Regions from separate parts of the Homo sapiens genome. Here regions 1, 2 and 4 are each linked to region 3. The links are contacts of gene promoters, found by promoter capture Hi-C in blood cells and fetal thymus (Javierre and others, 2016). All regions are on one chromosome and are shown on one strand. The core of a region is centred on a gene start or on the middle of the fragment in contact, and the rest is flanking DNA. Distances in the headings are between cores, read along the strand shown. Region 1 has its middle 180 kb from the start of RAD51B-AS1. Region 2 has its middle 200 kb from the start of RAD51B-AS1. Region 3 holds the start of RAD51B-AS1 (RAD51B antisense RNA 1). Region 4 overlaps LOC124903334 (a long non-coding RNA gene).

Region 1 (2,700 bases), core at 136-2,635, 180 kb before region 3:
GGAAGGCCACGTCTGAGCCATCAAAGGAGCCTCAATGGGAGGGGACGTCAATGTGCTTCCTCAACCAGAAAGGTGGTTTGAGTTTGGCCAAAGCAGCCCAACCAAATAAGTAAAAGCCTGTCAATGGAAAGATGGGGGCTGCTGGGAGATCACACGACAACAGAATGAGAACCATTATCAGTCTCATCCCAGCCTGAAGGAGGGAGAGCCTTTGAAGCCACAGACAGGCTGAACAGAACTTTCCACCTGAGAGACGCTGGAGATGGGAGGTCAGGCTGCACTCAGCCCCTACGAAAACTGATCAAAGCCTGCTGCAGAAGGGAGGGGGGCGCACAGCTGCAGTTCCGACTCCCCCCACGGGCCGCCCGGGACTTTCTGAAGGCAACAGGGCTGCCTTTGCAGGGCCCTGTGGGAAAACCCAACACAGATGCACATTGCAGCCAAACCCCCAAGCACTGCTGGGAGAGGGAAAAATAAACCCCTCAATAGTCCTGAAAAGAAAAGGGAGGGAATCAAAGCACACAAAAAATGCAAAGACCACCCACCTGATGAGTGCCTACCTTTCGGAAACAAATAACTCCTGGCTTCCAAGGCGCACTTCTAAAAGAACAGACGGACTGAACACTGCCTCAAAGCTGCATGCACCAGGGGATTTGTGGGAAGCTGTGGCCCCTTCTAAGCATCGGAAGCTTAATTTAAAGTGTGTTGGCCTCTGCGGTGCCTATTCAAGGGCTCCCTTGCATCCGCTGTCCTCCCTGGGAACCTGGGAGACAAGAATCCTCATTTAGAAAAGGACAGGATCCTGTGTGGACTCCTTTATCGTGGTTCTCTCAGACAGGACAGCCATATCTGCCAGGGAACATTCTAGGGGGCATCTTTCAGGCTAGATCCAGGGTGATGTGGGCCCCTGCGAGGGCATCTTGGAAGGCTGTGTTGGTTCTGCCTGGACTGGTCCCTCTGGGACAGCCTCAGCCTACCCTGCCTGGCCTCACCCCTCCTCCCTCTGACCTGAAGCTCCTTTGGAGGACTGACACTTCATGGAGCCTGCAGTTTGATCTTTTCTGAAGTGGAGACAACAAAGCAAAGCCACTTCCACTGTGTGCTCTCTCAAAAGAATAGGAAAGCTCTTCTCTCCTCCTTGGGAATGGATTTGGAGGGAGGGTGGAGGGCGTAATGATGGGGAGGCCTTGGAGGTATTTTGGTGGAGGAGGGTGTGTGTGGAGGAAATGAGCCGCCCAGGAGCATGGGAGAAATTGACATGAGAACATTTCAGAAGCACTGGTTTAACCGGCTGACATTCTTTCCAAAATGGATGGACAAGCCTTTAGGAGTAGACAGAGGGCCTCAGGGAGGAGAAACAGCTGAGGAGGAGGCATCTCCCTTCCCCCTCCTCCAGAGGCTGATGCTACAGAGAAGGCGGCAAGGCCTCACTGAGCGCCTACCCACCACTCACTAGATTTCTATCTTTTTATTACCTTACCCTGGGAGATGAATGGGGTTATCTCCATTTTCCAGGTGACAAACAGAGATTCAGAGAGGTGACGAGAGGCTCTCCAAGGACCCATATGGAAGTGTCAGCTGGAATTCAACCCTCAGGCAGCCTGGCTCCAAAGTTCACAACCTTTCCTACTTGTTTCAGCCCTGCCCTGCCTTTCAGGGCTAAGAAGATGTTAGTAGATGTTCCATAAATATTTATTAAATTGAACTGAACTCAGCAGCTGAACACACGCAGGCCTCTTCCACCCTGACCAAGAGGAATCCTTTGAGGGTCTGCAGTATGGAAAGAAATTCTCTGAGGCGCTAAATAAAATCCTGCTCTGAGGTGCAAGGAGGACTTTTTTGAAATTAATAGCTAACAAAGTTTATGCAGACCCCAAAAGGAAAAACAGAAAGGAATTGGAATCATTTTAAAAACAGAGTCGGTAGATAATAAAACTTCACGGTGGTGGTGTTGTCTTTCATCAAGAAGCACGAAGTGCTCACAGGCTTTAATTACATCTTCATCCCTACGGCCCCTTCTGAAGTCGGTAGATGCACGTTAATAGTACCTTTCGTTTTAGGCATGGACACATTCCGGTACCAGAAGCTTTAGCAATTCTCCCCAAGGCAAGCAGAGTACAGAGCTGGATCGGGGCGCAATGACTCTCCAGGCCAGCATCCCATGCTACCTCCAGTTGTATTTCCTGACTCCGCAGCTGAAACCAAGGACTTCATTGACATATTTAGGGGTAGGGGGATCTGAAGGTCTAGGAAAGAAGGTGGGCAAAACCAAGGAATCAGGCCTCCACTTTGGCCTGCACACCATATAAATCCCCTCTTTGTTCACCCATATGCACATTCTTTAATTTAGGCATGGTTTCCATTTGTGTACATCAATGAGTTTGCTCAGTCACAAGGGTGCCGAAGCCTGAGCTGGACCACTCACTTTAGGTAATGCCACAGCAGACAATCAGTGCCTCTGATCATGAAGACTGGAGAAATGTGTCTGGGCTGGGCCCATGCATGATGCTTGGGAGGGAAACTCTCCCAGTGGACTCTGCGACTGGGATGTGGAAGCTCAGACAGCTAGAGATGGGAAAGGAAACTTAAATTGCAAAGGAGTAATCCTTTTTTTTTCTTTCTTTTTTTTTTTTTTTTTTTTTTTTTGCTAGTTCATTTTCAATCATTCATTTCCTGGCTTAAAAAATAATTAATAGTAAT
Region 2 (2,700 bases), core at 67-2,566, 200 kb before region 3:
TGGAGTGCAGTGGCATGATCTTGGCCCACTGCAACCCCTGCCTCCCGGGTTCAAGCAATTCTCCTGCCTCAGCCTCCCATGTAGCCAGGATTACAGGCATGTGCCACCATGCCCGGTTAACTTTTGTACTTTTTTTTAGTAGAGATGAAGTTTCACCATGTTGGCCAGGCTGGTCTCGAACTCCTGTCCTCAGGAGATCTGCCCTCGTCGGCCTCCCAAAGTGCTGGGATTACAGGTGTGAGCCCGGCCTTCTCTTGTAAATCTGTCTTTTGTTATGGGGGCCTTGGCCATGAACCTTGCAATGCGTTCATGCAAGATATTACTTTTTCTCCCCTACAGTTTCTGGTGCCCAATATGGGGTGACTGAGACACCCCACTCATTCTGGATCTTGCAGATGAGATCCTGGGGCAACTGACAAAAAGCTGGAAAAATTAGAATTCTTATCAAAGTCAGCTCTCCCAGATCTCTGTCTGTAGTGCTTGGTCAAGAGAGACGTTAGAAATTTCTCCTTGTCCCTTCCTTCCCAAATTCAGATTATCAGGAAAAAAAAAAAAATGTCTATATTGTGACTCTCTGACTAAATCTGGCTTTAAGGTACTCGTTTGTTACTGATCCTTTCCCTCGCAGGGACTGCTGTCTCTTTCCTTGTTTTTCTCAATTTCTGTCCTGATAACTTGGTTTGATTTTCTCCCTGTTGGGGCATGCAAGCTGTCTTGAGTTCCCCAACCAACTTCAGGGGAGGGAACTCAAGAATACGGCTGGACAGAAATGTGGGTTGCACCCTATTTCCAGCTATCCTACCAAGTATTGCCAGCTCTTGGGGGGTTTATTTGTATATTTCTTTTGACTCTCTTTGGGGGTAGTTCTGGATTTGGGAGGGCTGCACTCTCTTTTGAGAACCCCTTCTTAGTCCATGGTGAAGTCATAAAAGGCTCTTTGGTTTTGGTTGAGTCACTTAGTAGGTACTTTCAGTTTAAAACAAGAAAAAGGTAAATGTATATGTTTTTCTCTTGTTAATCTGTGTTTTCTTGTAGTGCTCTCAGCCACGAACCTTGAGATAGGTGAGGAAAATATATTATTTTTCCTCCCTTACATTGAGCAAGATGCTGTCTGTTCTCTGCAACTCCTAATTGTTCTCTCTTCACCTCCATTGTCTGCCACGAAAAAAAAAATGCTACATTGTTCACACATTAAAATGGATCACTCAAAAGTGTCTGAAAAAAGCAAGAGGAAAACATATCCTAATTCCAAATGTCAAAAATTAAGTGGCTCCTCCTTGAGACTACCTTTTTGACCCCAAGAAACAATAAGAGAGTGCCCTATACCCAGTGTTTGACAAACCAATACAGTACTCTCCTGCCCAAGGCCCTCCAGGCCTTCACCACAAACCATGCTGCAGGGACAGGACGTAAGCACTGCCTCTGATATGGAGCACTTGCTGCGTGTCTGACACACACTTTACATACACAATCTTCTCTAATGCTTCCAGTAATCTTACAGGTAGAATTTTGTATTATTCCTTCTCTACAGATGAGGAACTGAAGCAGGAGAGGTTCAGTTTGTCACCAGAAAGGATGAAATGTGGATTTGAACTCAGGCAGTTCTACTCTCTTTTCTCTTTCATCCCTTGCCCTGTAATATTTCTGTTCACAACTCTTATTCATCCTAAGTTCACTAAAGTACTCAGCATAATACTACACACACAATAGTAAAGAACTCAGTGAATATTTTCTAAATAAAAGAATCACCAGGAACAATGCTAGTAGTTTGATCTTCTACTCTGAGCAGTGATGCTCAGAATATAGTAGAGGTTCCATCACTGCCTTATCATGTCACCATTTTTAAGGAGCAGAAGACATGCACAGGAAAGTTGCCCCAGGAAATGTTCACAAGAAAGAAGGACACAGGTAGCATTCTTCCCCGTGAGCTGATAATCTGCCAAGCTGGTACCACCCATGAGATTCTAGTGTGGCATTTTGTATCATTAATTACTTTTACTGAAAGTAATTACTTTTACTGAAAGTAATTAATGATGCAATTCAGAGATATTTTAGGGGTGTGTGTGTGTGTGTGTGTGTATGTGTGTGTGTATCAAAGTTCAACTTTGTCTCCCTAATCCTGCTAGCCTTCTGGCCATTCTATTAAGGTATTGCAGTCCTGGTGAAGATTCAGAAATGTGTGGTCCCCGTCAGCCTACAGGGTGAACATTTTGGATTAACCCAGAGAGCCTTGAACTCTGTGCATAATGTCTTTTAGGTTGTGTGTTGTGAACAAAGCAAAATGACTGCTCAGAGACAGGGTTGTAAAAGTTTGTCCAGCAAAACCAGGATTGCCAAATGAGAATTCTGGAAAGGGAGGATAAGGATTAGGTAATGGGAGAAAAGTGAGTGAAGGCAAGGAGAAGTGCAAAATATCTGATTCTAGCCTAAAAACTGGTCTTGGAACCATTTGGAAGGGTCATTTTTTCCATGTTTTATTTTCAATATCATCACCATCACTTTTATCCTGTGGCTGTGAAAGGACTTTCTTCATTCCACTCCAGAATTCAAAGAGGCTTCTTTTGCACAAATGGAGGGAAGGCACTCATCACACTTCTCAGCCAAACATCCTAAGTGTGAGAGAAAACACACTGCCTACTTCTGAATTTCGGTGAGGGCAGGGTTCAGATGGAACACATATTTTCCAAAACTCCAAATAGA
Region 3 (2,700 bases), core at 34-2,533:
AAACTTAAAAATTAGCCAGGCATGGTCTCAGCTACTCAGGAAGCTGAGGTGGGAGGATTGCTTGAGCCCAGGAGGCTGAGGCTGCAGTGAGCCGTGATCATGCCACTGCACTCCAACCTGGACAATAAAGCAAAAGATCCTGCCTCAAAAAAGAAGAAAGAGAACAGAGCCCTACAGAGAAGGAAGAAGGCAGGCACATTGTCACTTTTGCTCTCAAGCTCCCTGGATCTCTCCTAGAGGAGAGACCCCCAAACCTGCCTGCACTCCGCAGGAGCTGACTGGGGGAGGACCCTTTCCAGGGACACCTCCCTGGAGGTGCTCTAATATTTGGCTGCTTGGCCATTCTGGGCCAAGAAGACTCCTTCCCTAGCCCAGGACCATTAGTCTCCCTGATGATTGCTGCAGAAAGGCCCAATTTTCAGGGCCCTACCTAGCCCTTCAATACCTTTGAGCCACCCATCTTGTCTGAGCCAGAGTCCTAAAGCCAGTCCTGAGCTTCAAGACCCATGCTTGCCCTGGCCACTGCTTCCCCTGGGAGAGCTGCCTGGCTTCCTGCAGAGAGCTGGCCTGCAAGTTGGAAGGGCATATTCTCCTCCCGGCTCCCTGGCTAAATTGCTATAGAATTTCAGGTCACTCAAGTGAACTTTCTGTGACTATTTTTTCCTCCCTTCAAGATTTATCAACTATTAATTGGAGCCTCTAGATGCCTGCAATGTGGAGGTCCTGAGAATTCAATACAGAATAATACAAATGCAGTTCTTCCTGTGAAGCCTGGACAACCTTTCCCTTCCTTCCTTCCTTCTTTCCTTCCTTCCTTCCTTCCTTCCTTCCTTCCTTCCTTCTTTCTTGAGTTTCCTGATGCCAGCTCCTCAGATGGTGAGCCAGCGGTGGGAAGGTAGTGGTGGGGGTGATTATAAATACAATAAGAAATAAACCCACACACTGCAAAACTCCATGTTAATACTATTAATAGTATTTCCAAATTGCATACAGGTAGAAGACAGTTCCTTAGCAACATGATCGTAATGAGAATTCCACAAGGGCATCTGGAATTTACTCTGTCAGACATTCCAGCTTATCAGGAAATGAAAAGGACCAAGACTATCATATAATGTGCAAACTATGCTAATGCCTATCACTAGTGTATATCAGACCCCAGTTACAGGACTGACCCATGGGACTCCCCTTGTCTCAGCTTTAATCACATGAAGTACCTGAGGCCTGTTGTCCTCCTCGGGGCTCAATGCCTTCTTGCGGCCAGGTCCTTCGTATAATTCAAGAGTTGAAATCACTGTCAACACAGCCCTTTGACTAATGTTCCGGGGTGACAGGCCTGGCACGTGAACACATGAGTGATGCTATTATCCCCCAAATCACAGGTGAGTGAGGTCTCTGGAGATGTCCACCCCCACATGAATTTCCCTTTGTGGTAGCAGTAACATCTGAGTCACTAAGCATGGGGCCACAATTTAGGCTCACTCCCTCCCCTTCCTGTGCCCCAAAAGGGGGCTGAAGGCGGGTCCTCACAGCAGAAAAAGCTCCACTTCCTCCGAGCTCCAGACAGCACATCTCAGCTGTGTTGGGCCTTACAAGGCTGCGGTCAACAGGCACCCAGGTGATGAGGTCTTTCTCAGCCTGTTGTTCTCTTGTTAGCCCTTTGATGTTTCAAAGCTGACGAGGTCAGCATCTTCCAGGCTGCAGGAAACATGCCTGCCAGGTATACCTTTCAAGCAGCTGATTAATATGTCATGTGGTCTCTGGTCAGAGGAGAGTGTAAGGGCTGTTGAAATGACTCACCAGCTCAGCTCCCGTGTCTTTGGGAAACGCTACCCTGTCAGCAAGAGGCCTCCAGCTGAAAAGTAAAGACACAGATCTGAAAGGGTACAGTTCTAGCGTCCAACAAACTATTATACATCCTAAATGAAGTGAGAAATGGTAGGCTCTTCACCTGCCAGGGCCTGGCGGGGCCTGTGTCCCAGGACTGCTTAGGAATCCAAGCCTCGCACTGTTTATCCATTATACTGATGAGAAGCCTGTGAGACAGGGAGGCTTGCTGGGCCTCCAAAGTCCACTTGCTGGCTTGTTACTTGGCACCATCAGATCTACGCTAGGGATGGTGTAACTAGAGCCTTTGAGTGCATGAAAAGTCTGTGGCCTGACAAAGCACTTACTGACCAAGGAAAATCAACTTCAGGTGCAGCAGGAAAGGTCTGGTACCCAGAATGTCTGGGGTTTTGAGACACTGGAAAAGATTGCCTAATAATGTCATGGGCTCCCTTCCCTGGAAATAATCTGAAAATAGGATAAGTTCCCTCCAATCTTGGATGGGTCAACCTCGTCTTGAGGTAAGGAGACGGTTACATCAACCCATGGAGAGGGCCTGTCAGCAACTCTGAGTCTATTAGAGGGTATATTTTCAAACACAAAAAACTTTTTATCCTGGTAAAATATACCTAACGTAAAAGCTACCATTTTACCCATGTTTAAGTGTACAATTCAGTGGCATTAAGTACATTCACATCGTTGTATAAGCTTCCCCGTCATCTCTCTCCAGAACTTTTTCATCTTTCCAAACTGAAACTCTGTGCCCATTAAACACTGACTCCTCTTTCCCCTCCTCACAGCCCCTGGCAACTACCATTCTCCTTTTCATCTTTATGATTTTGACTACTCTAAGTACCTTGCATACGTGGAGTCACG
Region 4 (2,870 bases), core at 266-2,765, 160 kb before region 3:
TGAGTGGGCAACGTGAAAGTACCAACATCAGAAAAGCACCTCAGGACCTCCAGGTCCTGACTCCCCACTCCTCCCTTCTCATGAGCCAGGCAGGCTGTCTGCAGGCCAGCCAGTGAATTGAACTGGGGCTCTCAGAGTCTGAACAGCTGGCCATGTCTTGGACAGTGCTTCATGACTCTAAGTTATTACTTTCTGTTCCTTTCCTAGTCCCTAACTCAGACCCAAGCTCTTTGCTCCCTGGAGTTTCTAAGTGTGTAGGTATTAGGAAGAGAGCAAATAAACCAGTTCACACAGATGTATGAATAATGTTTAACCAGCCAGTTCTCTTTGAGATATATTGTTGTAAAGAAGCAAAACTAAATGTCTAATCTGTGGAATTTCAGGCAACCTTATACGTTTCAGGTGGTGCCCTTGAGAGGGAAGACCTTTTGAGCTGGGGCTGCCACCCTGTTCCCTTCTAGCTTCCCTGCACTGTTCCTGCAGCAGCTTCTTTTCTTCCTCCATTTCTGAATCCCCAGAGTCTTGAAAACCTCCAGAATTTTCAGAGTGGTTCCTTTGGCACCAGTGGCCATGCATCTGACAATTACAGTAGCTAACATTTATATGTAATTGTTAGCCCCTCATATTAAACCTACATTAACCCTATGTTAAATGAAGTTAACCATAACATAGGGTTGCTGTGACTTCACAGCAAACTTCAGCCCTATGTTAACTGACTTCACAGCAACGCTATAAGGTTGGGTCGGTTACTCTTCTCTGGGTGAGGCTGTGGCTGGATGAGAGATGTTTGTTAGCTGCCTGTGGACACACAGCTGGCAGGCTGAAATTTGAAGCAGCGTCTTGCTCCCAGTCCACACTCAGGGCCGTGTGAGTGGGATGTGAGCCTGAGTCTGCCCTCCCTTGGGTTTGCTGTCCTGAGAGAACAAAAGCAAATCCGTGTTCTGGTTCTCTGAGATAGCTCTTACTAGACCTGGCTCAGTTTGACCCCTTTCTGCTGCTGGAAAGGAGGACAGTGCAGGTCAAAGCCCTGGTTGCTGATTACAGACAAGATGGGAGTCATGTGGGGTGTCAGCTTCTGTCTCCTGAGAGAGAAAACCGAAAAATGCTACCTGAATTTCCAGGATGAGGTTGAAGGCACAATCTTTTCAGGCCAAATCTCTTGGGCAGAATTGAAGAGACTGCAAAAAAAATATGGAAGTTACCCTCACCGTTTCTGGGATGTCTGAATTCCTCCCTCTCTGGAATGGAGCCGCTGGAAGGCTCCATAATCCTCCCTCTCCTGGCTCAGAGGCCCAGCTACACTTTCTAAAACAACCCAGAGCCATCTGATTTCAAGCATGTACCGGCTCGTGTGTGGAAGACAGTAATTACCTCCATTCCAGTTAGGAAAGCTGAAACCTGCCTTTTTCATGCCTCAAACAATTATCGAAGTGCCTTTTGAAGCTCTGGATAGAAGAGAAAAGCAAAACAAACCAAAGAGCCAATTAGAGCCTGGGATTTGAGGGTGGCTTAGTTTTGTGCAGTGGGACTTGGGAGGAACTGTGGGAGAGGGTCAGAGGTCACCCCAAACCTCCAGCTGCCAACCAACTTTGCCTGTGCCAAAAGAACATTATTTTGCATTGAAAATCAAGGCTCCTCTCCCTGACTCAGGAACAATTTGCAGGAACAACCTCTGCATCAGCTGTGAAGAGGGCTCCCTGATTAAATAAGGCCTGGAATGCATTTGATGTTGAACAAAACAGTTCTCTGACAGCTTTTCTTACTTGCCATTAGAATGCTTCCCCTTCAGCTGAAACTTGGTAAGATAAAGTGAATCCCCGGGGACCCTTTTGTTTTGGTGTACATATTTGAGGAATTTTTGTGGCCTGTGTTCCATTTGGAGTTAAGGTTCTTGGTCCCTGAAGTTCTTCCAGGCTTGGTGGTAGAAGCTGGCAATTCAGAGGCAGGCTGTGATGAGAGTAGAAAGCGGATACCAGGCATGAGGGCAGAGGAGAGCAAGTGGCCCTGCCCTGGGATGGGAAGCCTGAGGGCTTTTTTACAGTCCCCAAGGAGAGTTCCCTGACATTCAACACTGCCACAAGGCGCAGAGTGGAAAGTGGAGTTGGGGCATGGTGGGGTTGAAGCTGGATTAGAATGGACTTGGCCAAGATCTGTTCGTGATGTCTGGGGTGGCCTTTTGGATTAACAGGATTTGATTCACTGTGAAGGCAACGTAGCACTGTCTGGGAGGTTCCCTTTTGAGTTTGGGTGAGAATCAGGAAGACAGCCAGCACCAAAGAGCCCTGAGAGAACCCACTATGCCTTATTTACATCCCTAACCCAAACTGGATAGAGGAGCTTTCTCTTGGCCCTGGCATAAGTGCCCGGCTTTCCATCTGCCTATCATTTACCCCCTCAACAGTGGGCTTTGATGTCTACCCTCCACTACAAGAAAAAGCATTTGTAGGAATGCCTCTTGGTGTATGTGGGGGACTGCCCCTTAGTATAGGGAAAGTTGTCCTCCATACACAAAGGTTTTGTATCCTGCAAGTGCTGTATTTTCTATCTGTGTTTGGTTGAAAAAACAAAAACCTACATATAAGTAGACCCAGGCAGTTCAAGTCCATGTTGTTCAAGGGTCAAATGTATTCCTATAAAGCAAAACAAAGAAGCATATTGCTTAGGAATGTGTCTGTCGTGCTCAAAATGGAGTGAATATCAATGGTCTGGTGGCATCAAAATGGCCAGTTCTGTGACAGTAAAAGAGGTTTGTGTCTTATTTAATCTTTTGATAATAATAACAGCTATGGTGTATCACAGCTTTACCAAGTACCAGACACTGTTCTAAGGGCTTTGCATGGTTCACTCACTCCTTACGTCATCCCTCGGTG

The links. Contacts are between HindIII fragments. The CHiCAGO score rates a contact against its expected background, and 5 or more counts as called.
Region 1: a contact is called between a fragment that was not itself captured here and the fragment with the promoter of RAD51B-AS1 in region 3, in 7 of 17 cell types (non-activated CD4 T cells, endothelial precursors, naive B cells and 4 more). The highest score is 10.7, in non-activated CD4 T cells.
Region 2: a fragment that was not itself captured here is called in contact with the fragment with the promoter of RAD51B-AS1 in region 3 in 2 of 17 cell types (total B cells and non-activated CD4 T cells); the score reaches 6.3 in total B cells.
Region 4: a fragment that was not itself captured here is called in contact with the fragment with the promoter of RAD51B-AS1 in region 3 in 3 of 17 cell types (naive B cells, non-activated CD4 T cells and total B cells); the score reaches 7.4 in naive B cells.

Annotation. Positions count from the first base shown.
Region 1 is chr14:68,502,042-68,504,741 of GRCh38, forward strand. It overlaps a transcript of RAD51B not described here. Among named protein-coding and RNA genes, the nearest start is that of RAD51B-AS1, 180 kb to the right of the region's middle. The HindIII fragment of the contact is 1,397 bases long and covers 688-2,084 here.
Region 2 is chr14:68,480,120-68,482,819 of GRCh38, forward strand. It overlaps a transcript of RAD51B not described here. Among named protein-coding and RNA genes, the nearest start is that of RAD51B-AS1, 200 kb to the right of the region's middle. The HindIII fragment of the contact is 5,113 bases long and covers 1-2,700 here.
Region 3 is chr14:68,684,157-68,686,856 of GRCh38, forward strand. It overlaps RAD51B-AS1 (RAD51B antisense RNA 1), which reads right to left and starts at 1,284. Exons shown (of 4, transcript XR_007064220.1): 1 at 1,215-1,284. RefSeq lists an enhancer at 1,572-1,621. The HindIII fragment of the contact is 3,133 bases long and covers 1-2,530 here.
Region 4 is chr14:68,521,244-68,524,113 of GRCh38, forward strand. LOC124903334 (a long non-coding RNA gene) reads right to left here. Exons shown (of 3, transcript XR_007064223.1): 2 at 1,372-2,870; 3 at 1-1,178. It also overlaps a transcript of RAD51B not described here. Among named protein-coding and RNA genes, the nearest start is that of RAD51B-AS1, 160 kb to the right of the region's middle. The HindIII fragment of the contact is 4,614 bases long and covers 1-2,870 here.